4 separate regions of the Homo sapiens genome follow, and all the other regions are linked to region 4. The links are contacts of gene promoters, found by promoter capture Hi-C in blood cells and fetal thymus (Javierre and others, 2016). All regions are on one chromosome and are shown on one strand. Each heading gives the region's core, a stretch centred on a gene start or on the middle of the fragment in contact. The rest is flanking DNA. Distances are from core to core; before and after follow the strand shown.

Region 1 (2,700 bases), core at 201-2,700, 200 kb before region 4:
GGGGCTCCTCACATCCCAGACGATGGGCGGCCAGGCAGAGACGCTCCTCACTTCCCAGATGGCGTGGCAGCCGGGCAGAGGCTGCAATCTCGGCACTTTGGGAGGCCAAGGCAGGCGGCTGGGAGGTGGAGGTTGTAGCGAGCCGAGATCAGGCCACTGCACTCCAGCCTGGGCACCATTGAGCACTGAGTGAACGAGACTCTGTCTGCAATCCCAGCACTTCGGGAGGCCGAGGCTGGCGGATCACTCGCGGTTAGGAGCTGGAGACCAGCCCGGCCAACACAGCAAAACCCTGTCTCCACCAAAAAAATACGAAAACCAGTCAGGCGTGGCAGTGCGCGCCTGCAATCGCAGGCACTCGGCAGGCTGAGGCAGGAGAATCAGGCAGGGAGGTTGCAGTGAGCCGAGATGGCAGCAGTACAGTCCAGCTTCAGCTCGGCATCAGAGGAAGACCGTGGAAAGAGAGGGAGAGGGAGACCGTGGAAAGAGAGGGAGAGGGAGACCGTGGAAAGAGAGGGAGAGGGAGACCGTGGAAAGGGGAGAGGGAGAGCGATTTTCTGACTTTTAAACCTTTTATTCTCCACTTAGTGGCATAAAGGAATCTCTATTATGCAAAACTAATCTGAAAGTGAATAGTTATATAGTGGCTACAGAAAATTTTACCTTTTTTTTTTTTAGACGGATCCTCCAGGTTGGAATGCAGTGGTGTGATCTTGGCTCACTGCAACCTCTGCCTTCCGGTTTCAAGCAATTCTCCCGCCTCAGCCTCCCGAATAGCTGGGATTACAGGTGCATGCCACCACACCTGGCTACTTCTTGTATTTTTAGTAGAGATGGGGTTTCACCATATTGGCCAGGCTGGTCTCGAACTCCTGACCTTGTAATCCCCGGCCTCAGCCTCCCAAAGTGCTGGAATTACAGGTGTGAGCCACTGGGCCCGGTCGAAATATTTTCTATATCCATATTAAATGTGATTCTCTGTTCGTTGCCTGATTCTCACCAAATAGGGCAAGTAATTAAGGTTTCGCAAACACTTTGTTAGAATGGGCAACATTACATCAGAGGAGAATCGTCATGTTATTTGAAGTTGGTTTATCACTCTGCACCTCACTCTTATGTAGAAACTTGACTGACCACAAACACAAATGTTTTAACATTTAAATATCTGTGTATTCATTTTTATACTTCTTGAAAGTACTTCTAGGAGTACAAACATGAACTGCTAACAAGTCCTTTTTCCCCCAGATGGCAATATTATTGTGGGGGTAGAAGCATCTTCTGTCCTAACAAGAGGACCGACTCTTGCTGGCTCCTGGATGAGGCCTGGTCGCCAGAAAGATCAAGCCATAATGAGAAGCTTGAACCTTTCAGTCCCACCCCCCATTCTTCAGGAAGGGGAGAGAGGCTGGAGACTGAGTTAATAATCAACCATGCCTGGGTGATGAAGCCTCCATAAAAATCCTGGAACTACAGAATCTGGAGAGCTATTGGGCTGCTGAACACGTGAAGGTGCCTAGATGGTGGCACATCCCAGAGAGGGCAGGGAAGCTTAGCGGGTCTTCTGACATGCTTTGCCCTGTGCATCTGTATTCTGTTTAATAGTCTTTAGAATAAATGGGTAAACGTAAGTAAAGTTTCCCTGAGTTCTGTGAGCTGGCCTAGAAATTATCAAACTCCAGGATGGGGTTGTGGGAACCCCTATTTATAGCTCATTGGACAGAGGCACAGGTCACAGCCTGCGGCTTGCGACTGGCTTCTGAGGTGTGCACAGTCTTGCAGGACTGAGCCCTTAACCTGTGGGTTCTGACTGTAACTCCAGGTAGATGGTGTCAGAATTGAATTAAATTATAAGACACCCTGTTAGTGTCCACTAGAGAATTGTTTGGTGTGTGGGTTTGATCACCCACACATTTTGGTGATCAGAAGCATTCTATGTTGAGTGTGAATGTAGAAGGAAAAACAGTCCATTGTTTCCTAACTCATACAAAGGCTAAGGTGCTGTATGTGGGCAGTCTTTGCTTTGCCCAGTCCCCATATGGACATATTTGGCTTACCACATTTTAGTTTAATAACTCCAGTCCTCCCCACCAGCATGGTTCAAACTTCATTTGCCATGGAATTTTAACGAATTGTATAAGGTGCAAACCTTGCTGCTGGCTCTTTAGTCCAAAAAAATGACATAAATAACAGATGGGCATCATGATTAGGACATCACTGCTTTCGAAGACTAGTGGTGATTGGCTGGTCAGTGCCGGTGTGTTATTCAGCTCATGCAGACGTCAGACAAGTGTATAGGTGGGTTGCCTCCTCATCTCTCAGTGATCAACAGATATAACATTTTATGAAATTCAATGATTGGGCTGGGCGCAGTGGCTCACACCTGCAATCCCAGCACTTTGGGAGGCTGAGGTGGATGGATCACTTGAGGTCAGGAGTTCAAGACCATCCTGGCCAACATGGTGAAACCCTGTCTCTACTAAAAATACAAAAATTAGCCAGGCGTAGTGGTGGGCGCCTATAATCCCAGCTACTCGGAGGCTGAGGCAGGAGAATCACTTAAACCTGGGAGGCAGAGGTTGCCGTGAGCCGAGATTGTGCCACCGCACTCCAGCCTGGGTGACAGAGTGAGACTCCATCCATCTCAAAAAATAAATAAATAAAAAATAAATTGGATGGATAATTGGAAGGGGGAATGGCTAA
Region 2 (2,785 bases), core at 226-2,725, 250 kb before region 4:
AATTCTTTTTTTTTTTCTTTTTCTTTGAGACAGAGTCTTGCTCTGTCTGGAGTGCAGTGGCGCAATCTCGGCTCACTGCAAGCTCTGCCTCCCGGGTTCACGCCACTCTCCTGCCTCTGCCTCCCGAGTAGCTGGGACTACAGGCGCCTGCCACCACGCCCAGCTAATTTTTTGTATTTATTTTTAGTAGAGACAGGGTTTCACCGTGTTGGCCAGGATGGTCTCAATCTCCTGACCTCGTGATCCGCCCGCCTCGGCCTCCCAAAGTGCTGGGATTATAGGCGTGAGCCACCGCGCCCAGCCGTTTTGTCCCATTATTTTAGATGCCAAGAACCTGTACACCCTCCACCGGTGACACCTTCACAGTTTTGAGGAGTATTCATGGGGTATTTTGTAAAATGTTTCTCAATTGGGATTTGTCTGATGTTTTTCTCATGATTAGACTGGAGGCAGCTGGGATTACAGGTGTGAGCCACCATGCCCAGTCTCCAAACCCTGTTTACACAAAAATTTTAAAAAACTAGCCAGGCTTGGTGGTGCGCGCCTGTAGTCCCAGCTACTAGAGAGCCTGAGGTGGATCACTTGATCCCGGGAGGGGGAGGCTGCAGTGAGCGGAGATTGTGCCTCGCTGGCTGCACTCCAGCCCGGGCGAGAGAGCCAGACCTTGTCTCAAAAAAAAAAAAAAAAAAAAAAAAAGCCTAATATGGCTGAGGGCGGTGGCTCACGCCTGTAATCCCAGTACTTTGTGAGGCCGAGGCGGGCGGATCACGAGGTCAAGAGCTCTAGACCATCCTGGCCAACATGGTGAAACCCCGCCCGTACTAAAAATACAAAAATTAGTTGGGTACTCGGGAGGCTGAGGCAGGAGAATCGCTTGAACCCGGGAGGCGGGGGTTACAGGGAGCTGAGATCGCGCCACTGCACTCCAGCCTGGCGACAGAGCGAGACTCCGTCTCAAAAATAAATATATACAAATTAAAAAAGCCTAATATACAAAATAAAGCTAGGAATCTTCCCTGAGTCCTCTTGCCTACGGAATGAAGTCCACAGACTTGGGGGAGCGTTCGAACCCTTCTAAGGCCACTTCCTTTCTCCAGCCTCTCGCGCCCAGTTGACTCCCGGCAACACCTCCCGCCGCCACAAGGAGACGCCCGAGGACTTCCCTCCGACAAAGCCAAAAACGGTATTGCCACGTGACCCGCTCCGCATACACGTGACCAGCTTCGCACCCGGTGGGCGTCACGTGACGGACTCAGTAGACCGCCACTGGCTGTGCACGTTATGGGGTTTCCACCTAGGGCTCGGCCTGAGGCTTGTAACACTCCGTTTTCCCCCGAGTCACAGGGGCAGTCTTGCCCCTCGCAGCTGGGTCGCGGTGTCTCTCAAAGGTCCCCCTCTACAGGGGCTTCGTGAGGCCCGGGCCCACAGGGCGCTCGGTCCCGGAAGTGACGTCTCCCAGAGGGGCCGGAAGTGGCAGTGGAGGGAGGGAAGATGGCGGAGGTGGTGAGTCCGGTGCCCGGGGCGGGGCGGAGGGAGCCAGGGGAGGTGGGTAGAGCCCGAGGCCCCCCAGTAGCCGACCCTGGCGTCGCGCTGTCTCCCCAGGGGGAGATAATCGAGGGCTGCCGCCTACCCGTGCTGCGGCGGAACCAGGACAACGAAGATGAGTGGCGTGAGTGACGTTGGGGGGCGGGACTAAGGAACCTGAGGGCGAGGGGCGGGAGTCAACTGAAATCCCGGGATGGGGAGGGGCGTCTGGAATTATGGGGCGGGCGAGGCGCAGATACTTTGATGAAGGGGCGTGGCTCTTAGCTGCTCCGAGAGGTACAGGGCGGGGCCTGGAAAGGGGTGGCACTTGTGACTGAAGGAGGCTTAGGAGAGACCTAAGTGCTGGAGCTTAGGGATCCGGCCTGGGGGTGGAGTTCAGGTCGTGGAAGGGTGGAGTCTCATAGCCTGGCCTGTCTAAGGCCCCTGTCTATGCTATTCTCATAGCCCTGGCCGAGATCCTGAGCGTGAAGGACATCAGTGGCCGGAAGCTTTTCTACGTCCATTACATTGACTGTGAGTTCTGGGCCTGAGGTGGGGCATCAGGGTAGGGTTGGGGGACAGTCTTTGGCATTCTGTCCTGAGCCATCCCCACTGCTACAGTCAACAAACGTCTGGATGAATGGGTGACGCATGAGCGGCTGGACCTAAAGAAGATCCAGTTCCCCAAGAAAGAGGCCAAGACCCCCACTAAGAACGGACTTCCTGGGTCCCGTCCTGGCTCTCCAGAGAGAGAGGTGGTGAGTAGGTCCCCCACTTCACCTTTTCTCTCCTGCCTCCTATTTCTCTTGTCTGTTGGCATTAGGAGCTCCTGGATGGGCAGGAGGCGGCTCCCTCTCACCCTGACTTCATCTTGCAAAGGATGGGGGCCAAATTGCACATGTAGCTCCCAGAGTCCAGTAGCTAGTCCTGTGTCCTTCAGAAGGCGAGGGTGGGGTTTGATAATTTTGAGGTGAGGGACCCCTCTTCCCCTTCCCCATCCCACTGCCATCCCCGCCCCAAAGGAAGACCCTGGACCTATCTCTACAGCCGGCCTCGGCGCAGGCCAGCGGGAAGACCTTGCCAATCCCGGTCCAGATCACACTCCGCTTCAACCTGCCCAAGGAGCGGGAGGCCATTCCCGGTGGCGAGCCTGACCAGCCGCTCTCCTCCAGCTCCTGCCTGCAGCCCAACCACCGCTCAACGGTACCCTCAGCAATTCCAGGGACCTTGCTTTCTTCTCAGGTCCCACCTTCTCTACCTT
Region 3 (2,700 bases), core at 136-2,635, 150 kb before region 4:
GGGGCTGAAGGACAGCAATAGGGCCAGAACGGCAATCTGGGTCTGTGCATCATGTTCTAGCCAACAAAACATCCCACCTTGGATTTTATTTTTTAAATCTATTCAAAGCTTCGGTTCCGCATCCAATTCCCAGAGAGGCCATCCCCTTGTCCAAATGGGCAGAGTGGCATGCCAGCACTGAGCCACCTCTGGAGGGGGCTGGCCACCTCTGGATGGGTCGGCACCCTCTCACAGGGGTGAACACTGCAGACTGGAACTGAGCTTCTCTCTGCTCCTCTGATTTGAGGAGAGAGCACACCTGATACCACAGCAAGCACTTGTTCTTGGCACTTGGTGTCACTCTTGCTTCATCTTGGCTCAGCTTAAACCCTTCAACTGAATGGTGGCGATCACCACAGAGGAGAACTCTCTTCTTCCCCCTCCGTGCCACATGCACACACATGCACACTCACACACACGCACACAATTGTACACACATGCACACTCACATACGTGCACAATTATACACACACGCAATCACACACACATGCACTCACATGCACACACGTAGACACACGCACAATTGCACACACATGCACACGTGCACTCACGCGTACACACTCGCACACACATGCACACTCGCACACACGTTGAGACGTGCACTCACGTATACACTCCCACACACGTTCAGACGTGCACTCACGTGCACACTCGCAAACACGCACACTCACACATGCACACTCACACACATGCACACTCACATGCCCGCCAGGGCAGGAGCCTGGCTCTCCAGGAGGCAGGGCAAGTGTCCAGACAGAAGGATGAGAGCCATGTTGTGGCACAGGAGGGCCCCATGGTGGATGATGGGGAGGAAGGGCCATGTGGACAGGCAGGGGTGGGGTTGGGAGGGGCTCCTCATCTTTCCTGAGCAGGGCCCGGGTGGAACCAAGTCTCCTGGAATTGTTCATTGTTGACTTCACCAACATATTCTTAAAACTTGAAATTGCTCAGAAGATAATCTAACAGCACAAACATGCACACATAAACAGTAAGAGTCCCTTGGCATCAAACTGGCAAACTGTGGTGGCAGAAACACAGGAAGGATCCACTCCCGGTGTGAGGCTTGCTGTCCCTCCCTCTTCAATGCGCTGGCTACCAAGCCTTTGCCAATCCCCAGTGCAGCAGTTCACAGACTTTTTACTGCTAAGAACGGCTTTTGGCAACCCCAAAAATGTGATGTGCCCTTTCGGTGGGTAGAATTAATTGGCGTAATAGAACGTGTCCTCCTCTCAGGCCTCAGCACTGCTGCTGCATCTTCGCAGCCTCTCTCAGCCTCGGTTCTGCCACCTTTCCTCACTCATACAACAACAGGCTCCTCCTATCGAGGAGGTAATGAGCTCCCACTGGACTTTGGGGTCCTCTAGAGTCACCTGCAAACTCCACTCCTCCCTCCCAACGTCGTCTCTAGAAGATTCCTTTGTCCTCGAGGCTCTCCTTTCAGTGAAGGACCCTCATGAGGACACAGTGCCTCCTCTGGGACACACAGCCATAATACTCTTGTCATAAGAAATCCAACTCCTTGACCGGGCTTGGTGGCTCACGCCTGTAATCCCAGCACTTTGGGAGGCCAAGGCAGGTGGATCACCTGAGGTCAAGAGTTCGAGACCAGCCTGACCAACATGGTGAAACCCCATCTCTACTAAAAATACAAAAATTAGCTGGGCGTGGTGGTGCGTGCCTGTAATCCCAGCTACTCGGGCGGCTGAGGCAGAAGAATCACTTGAACCCGGGAGGTGGAGGTTGCAGTGAGCAGAGATCATACCACTGCCCTCCAGCCTGGGCGACAGAGCAAGACTCTGTCGAAAAAGAAAAAGAAAAAAGAAAAGAAAAGAAAGAAATCCAACTCCTCTGCTACCCATGAGGGAAGGTGGCTCAGGATGAAAGGGAAGTTTGACAATCCCTAAATATCACAGGCTTAAGAAGAGCCATTACCCAAGAAGTCGTGTGGAAAGAGCTGCCGGCCTCAGCCACAGCTGTCCTCTACCCACACTGCCGCCTGCCGCAGGCCACAGCACCGTCAGCCGAAAAAGCCCACTGATATCTGGGTTACAGGGCTTGAGGCTGCCTTGATTTCTGGCTAACAGCTGGGCCGTCCTCGGCAAGAGCTCTCCTGGGAACGGGTTGGGGAGATTCCCCGTGCCCTGTCATTCTGATGTCTCCCTGCACAAGGGAGCGGGTTAACCATGTCCTTGCCACCTCATCTTCGAAAACAACTCATAAAAGCGCATCAGAGGAAACAGTCTTTTCATCCCACCTATCATTAGTTCCCAGAACAGGGGCTGGAAGTAGGCAGCCTCCCTGGGAGTTTGCGGGATGAGGCAACACCGGCGCCTGAGCTACCATTTAGCCTATTTCTAGAGATAAGCCTGTTGATGTCAAAGTAAGGAATGACCAACTCCAGCCAACAGCGCCCTGTGGGACTGGGTCTGTGACATCTCCTTTCTCCCAGGCACCATCCCCAGGGCAGGAGACAGGAACCCTAGATCGTGGGGGTTTGTGAACTGACCTAGGTAAATAATAACAAGTTGGGCTGCACTCTCCTTGAGGTAATTCAAAGTACTTTATCACCATTACCTCACTGATCTTAACTAACATCCAAGGAAGGAAGGAAAGAAAAAAGGCAGAAGCTTTCTCATTTCCTAAAACAAAAGTGAATGGGGG
Region 4 (2,700 bases), core at 158-2,657:
GTGCCACACAGGGAGCCACAGACTGAGCAACCACTGGGTGAGGGGAGGGGTTTCAGGAGAGATTGGGATTGTGTGCACTGCGCTTTTTTTTTTTTTTTTTAAGACAGAGTCTCGCTCTGTCACCAGGCCGGAGTGCAATGGTGTGATCTCAACTCACTGCAACCTCTGCCTCCCAGGTTCAAGCGATTCTCCTGCCTCAGCCTCCTGAGTAGCTGGGACTACAGGTGTGCGCCACCACACCCAGCTAATTTTTGTATTTTTAGTAGAGACGGGGTTTTACCATGTAGGCCAGGATGGTCTCGATCTCTTGACCTCGTGATTCGCCTGCCTTGGCCTCCCAAAGTGCTGGGATTACAGGCGTGAGCCACCGCGCCCGGCCTGCACTGGGGTTTTAAGTCCCAATAGTTTTAAGTTAGGGCTGGTCTCCTCAAGAAAAAAACTCATACACACAGATGTGCCACATTTTGCATTCAATTTCAGGGGTTCCAGGGATACACTGACGCCCATGTGGAGCTCCTAAACAATCTTAACAGTTCACGGGGCCAGGTTTTAAAAATCCAATCCAGGGCCAGGCGCAGTGGCGCATGCCTGTAATCTCAGCACTTTGGGAGGCCAAGGCGGGTGTATAGCCTGAGCTCAGGAGTTCGAGACCAGCCTGGCCAACATAGTGACCCCACCCCCTACCCCCGCTCCCCACCAACCATCTACAAAAAAATACAAAAATTAAAGGGGCGTGGTAGCGTACTCTCGTAGTCCCAGCTACTGGGAAGGCTGAGGTGGGAGGATCACTTGAGCCCAGGAGGTCGAGGCTGCAGTGCGCTGTGATCACGCCACTGCACTCCAGCCTGAGCAACAGAGTGAGATCCTATCTCAAGGGAAAAAACAAAACAAAACAAAACAGGGAACGTGGGAAGGAAGCGTTCCCTGACGATACTGGTTATAGCGGGTCTGAAGCTGGGCTGTGGAATTGGAGATCTCGGGAAAACAACACCCGTTGGAGCCACGACCCTAGGAGTCCACTAAGCGAGCGCCCATTGTAGGAGGGAGGTGTCTACGGAAAGACCGTGAGGTAGTGAACACCCCGTTGCCGGTGAAGTGCAAGCGCAGGGAGGCCGGGGAGGAACTTAAAGCCACGAAGACACTGACTTAATGGGCTCTAAGTCCTTCCAGTTCTGGGATCCCACCTCCGGGTTAATTCCGCTTCCCTTGAGGAGCGCATGCGCAATGGGACCACTCGCTCAAAGAACCCACCCGACCCGAGACGGCGCGAATGTGCAGTCGAGCGCTGATCCCGGCCTTCCCATGAGCCTCTGGGGCAGGCTCCAAGGCGAGCGACGGAAGCAGCCGCTCTTAGTTTCCGGCAACACGACAGCGGCTGCCGAGCGACCCGGAAGTATTCCCATTTTGCGTTGTCTGGGCTCGGCGGCAGCCGGGCTCGGAGTGGACGTGCCACTATGGGGTCGTCCAAGAAGCATCGCGGAGAGAAGGAGGCGGCCGGGACGACGGCGGCGGCCGGCACCGGGGGTGCCACCGAGCAGCCGCCGCGGCACCGGGAACACAAAAAACACAAGCACCGGAGTGGCGGCAGTGGCGGTAGCGGTGGCGAACGACGGAAGCGGAGCCGGGAACGTGGGGGCGAGCGCGGGAGCGGGCGGCGCGGGGCCGAAGCTGAGGCCCGGAGCAGCACGCACGGGCGGGAGCGCAGCCAGGCAGAGCCCTCCGAGCGGCGCGTGAAGCGGGAGAAGCGCGATGACGGCTACGAGGCCGGTGAGGAGGCGGGGCCTGCGCAGGGGGCGGGTCGGGCGGGGGTCCCGGAACGCGTGGGTCTGGGTGTGCGCGCAGTGTCAGCGAAGCTCTTCAGGCCAGGAAACCCCCAAGCTGTTTACCAGCTCTATTAAATAGTCTTTCTACGGGATCCCTTGAGCCCAGGAGTTAGAGGCTGCAGTGAGCTGCGGTCCCGCCAGTGTACTCCAGCCTGGGCAACAAAGCGAGACTCTGTCTCAAAAAGAAAAAAGTCTTTCTACGGTTGTTTAGGATTAGAGGTTGACTTTCTCCACTCAGCTGCTTGAGGACAGAGGGCTTCTGTTTTCCTCAGTTGTCTGGTACAATCAGATTCTCAATAAATATGTTGAATGAGTGAATGAAGTAGTGTCAGCATATACAGAGGCAAGAAAAACCTGGTATTGGACGAATCGTGTAGGGCGCATGGTAGAGAAATGAGGGAGTAAGATAGACAGGGATGTGAACACAAAGGACCCTGTACTGTAGTCTCTGTTAAGAACTGTAGATTGTCTTGAGGATAGTAGGGAGCCATGGATGTGAGTTGAGGAGTGAGTTGCTCAGATCCGTATTTTGTAAACATCACTGGATTGAGAATTTAGTCAAAGGTAGTCAGGACTGGAGACCAGGAAACCAGGAGGGCTATAGGCCAGGGGAGGGCTGATGGTGGCCTGCACCAAGGCAGCAGCAGTGGGATTGAGAGAAGTGGACAGGTTGGAGAGGTGTTTTGGAGGAGGAATGAACAGAACTCAGCACTTGTATGAGGGTGGGAAGAAGGAATGGAGGATGACTCCTTGAATTTTGGCTTGAGCAGCCAGATAGGTAGTGGGTGTCATTTCTACTGAAATTGAGGAGTAGGGAAGAGAAGCAGATTTGGAGCGGGGGTGGGGGGAGATAGTTCACTTTTGGGGTTGTCAAGGT

What was found. The method cuts DNA at HindIII sites, captures the fragments that hold promoters and counts their contacts. A CHiCAGO score of 5 or more calls a contact.
Region 1: a fragment that was not itself captured here is called in contact with the fragment with the promoter of SART1 in region 4 in 5 of 17 cell types (total CD8 T cells, megakaryocytes, naive B cells and 2 more); the score reaches 6.3 in total CD8 T cells.
Region 2: the fragment with the promoter of KAT5 here is called in contact with the fragment with the promoter of SART1 in region 4 in 13 of 17 cell types (M2 macrophages, M0 macrophages, M1 macrophages and 10 more); the score reaches 10.9 in M2 macrophages.
Region 3: a fragment that was not itself captured here is called in contact with the fragment with the promoter of SART1 in region 4 in 1 of 17 cell types (endothelial precursors); the score reaches 5.2 in endothelial precursors.

The regions. Positions count from the first base shown.
Region 1 is chr11:65,763,202-65,765,901 of GRCh38, forward strand. No RefSeq gene overlaps it. Among named protein-coding and RNA genes, the nearest start is that of AP5B1, 16 kb to the right of the region's middle. The HindIII fragment of the contact is 191 bases long and covers 1,356-1,546 here.
Region 2 is chr11:65,710,777-65,713,561 of GRCh38, forward strand. It overlaps KAT5 (lysine acetyltransferase 5), which reads left to right and starts at 1,476. Exons shown (of 13, transcript NM_182710.3): 1 at 1,476-1,669; 2 at 1,990-2,058; 3 at 2,146-2,282; 4 at 2,572-2,727. The coding sequence starts at 1,492. RefSeq lists enhancers at 1,032-1,151, 1,182-1,491 and silencers at 1,522-1,711, 1,722-1,801. The HindIII fragment of the contact is 6,423 bases long and covers 1-2,031 here.
Region 3 is chr11:65,809,927-65,812,626 of GRCh38, forward strand. All of the region lies in intron 3 of LOC124902693, which reads right to left. Among named protein-coding and RNA genes, the nearest start is that of OVOL1-AS1, 20 kb to the left of the region's middle. The HindIII fragment of the contact is 2,558 bases long and covers 107-2,664 here.
Region 4 is chr11:65,960,327-65,963,026 of GRCh38, forward strand. It overlaps SART1 (spliceosome associated factor 1, recruiter of U4/U6.U5 tri-snRNP), which reads left to right and starts at 1,408. Exons shown (of 20, transcript NM_005146.5): 1 at 1,408-1,767. The coding sequence starts at 1,455. RefSeq lists an enhancer at 1,266-2,053. The HindIII fragment of the contact is 10,638 bases long and covers 1-2,700 here.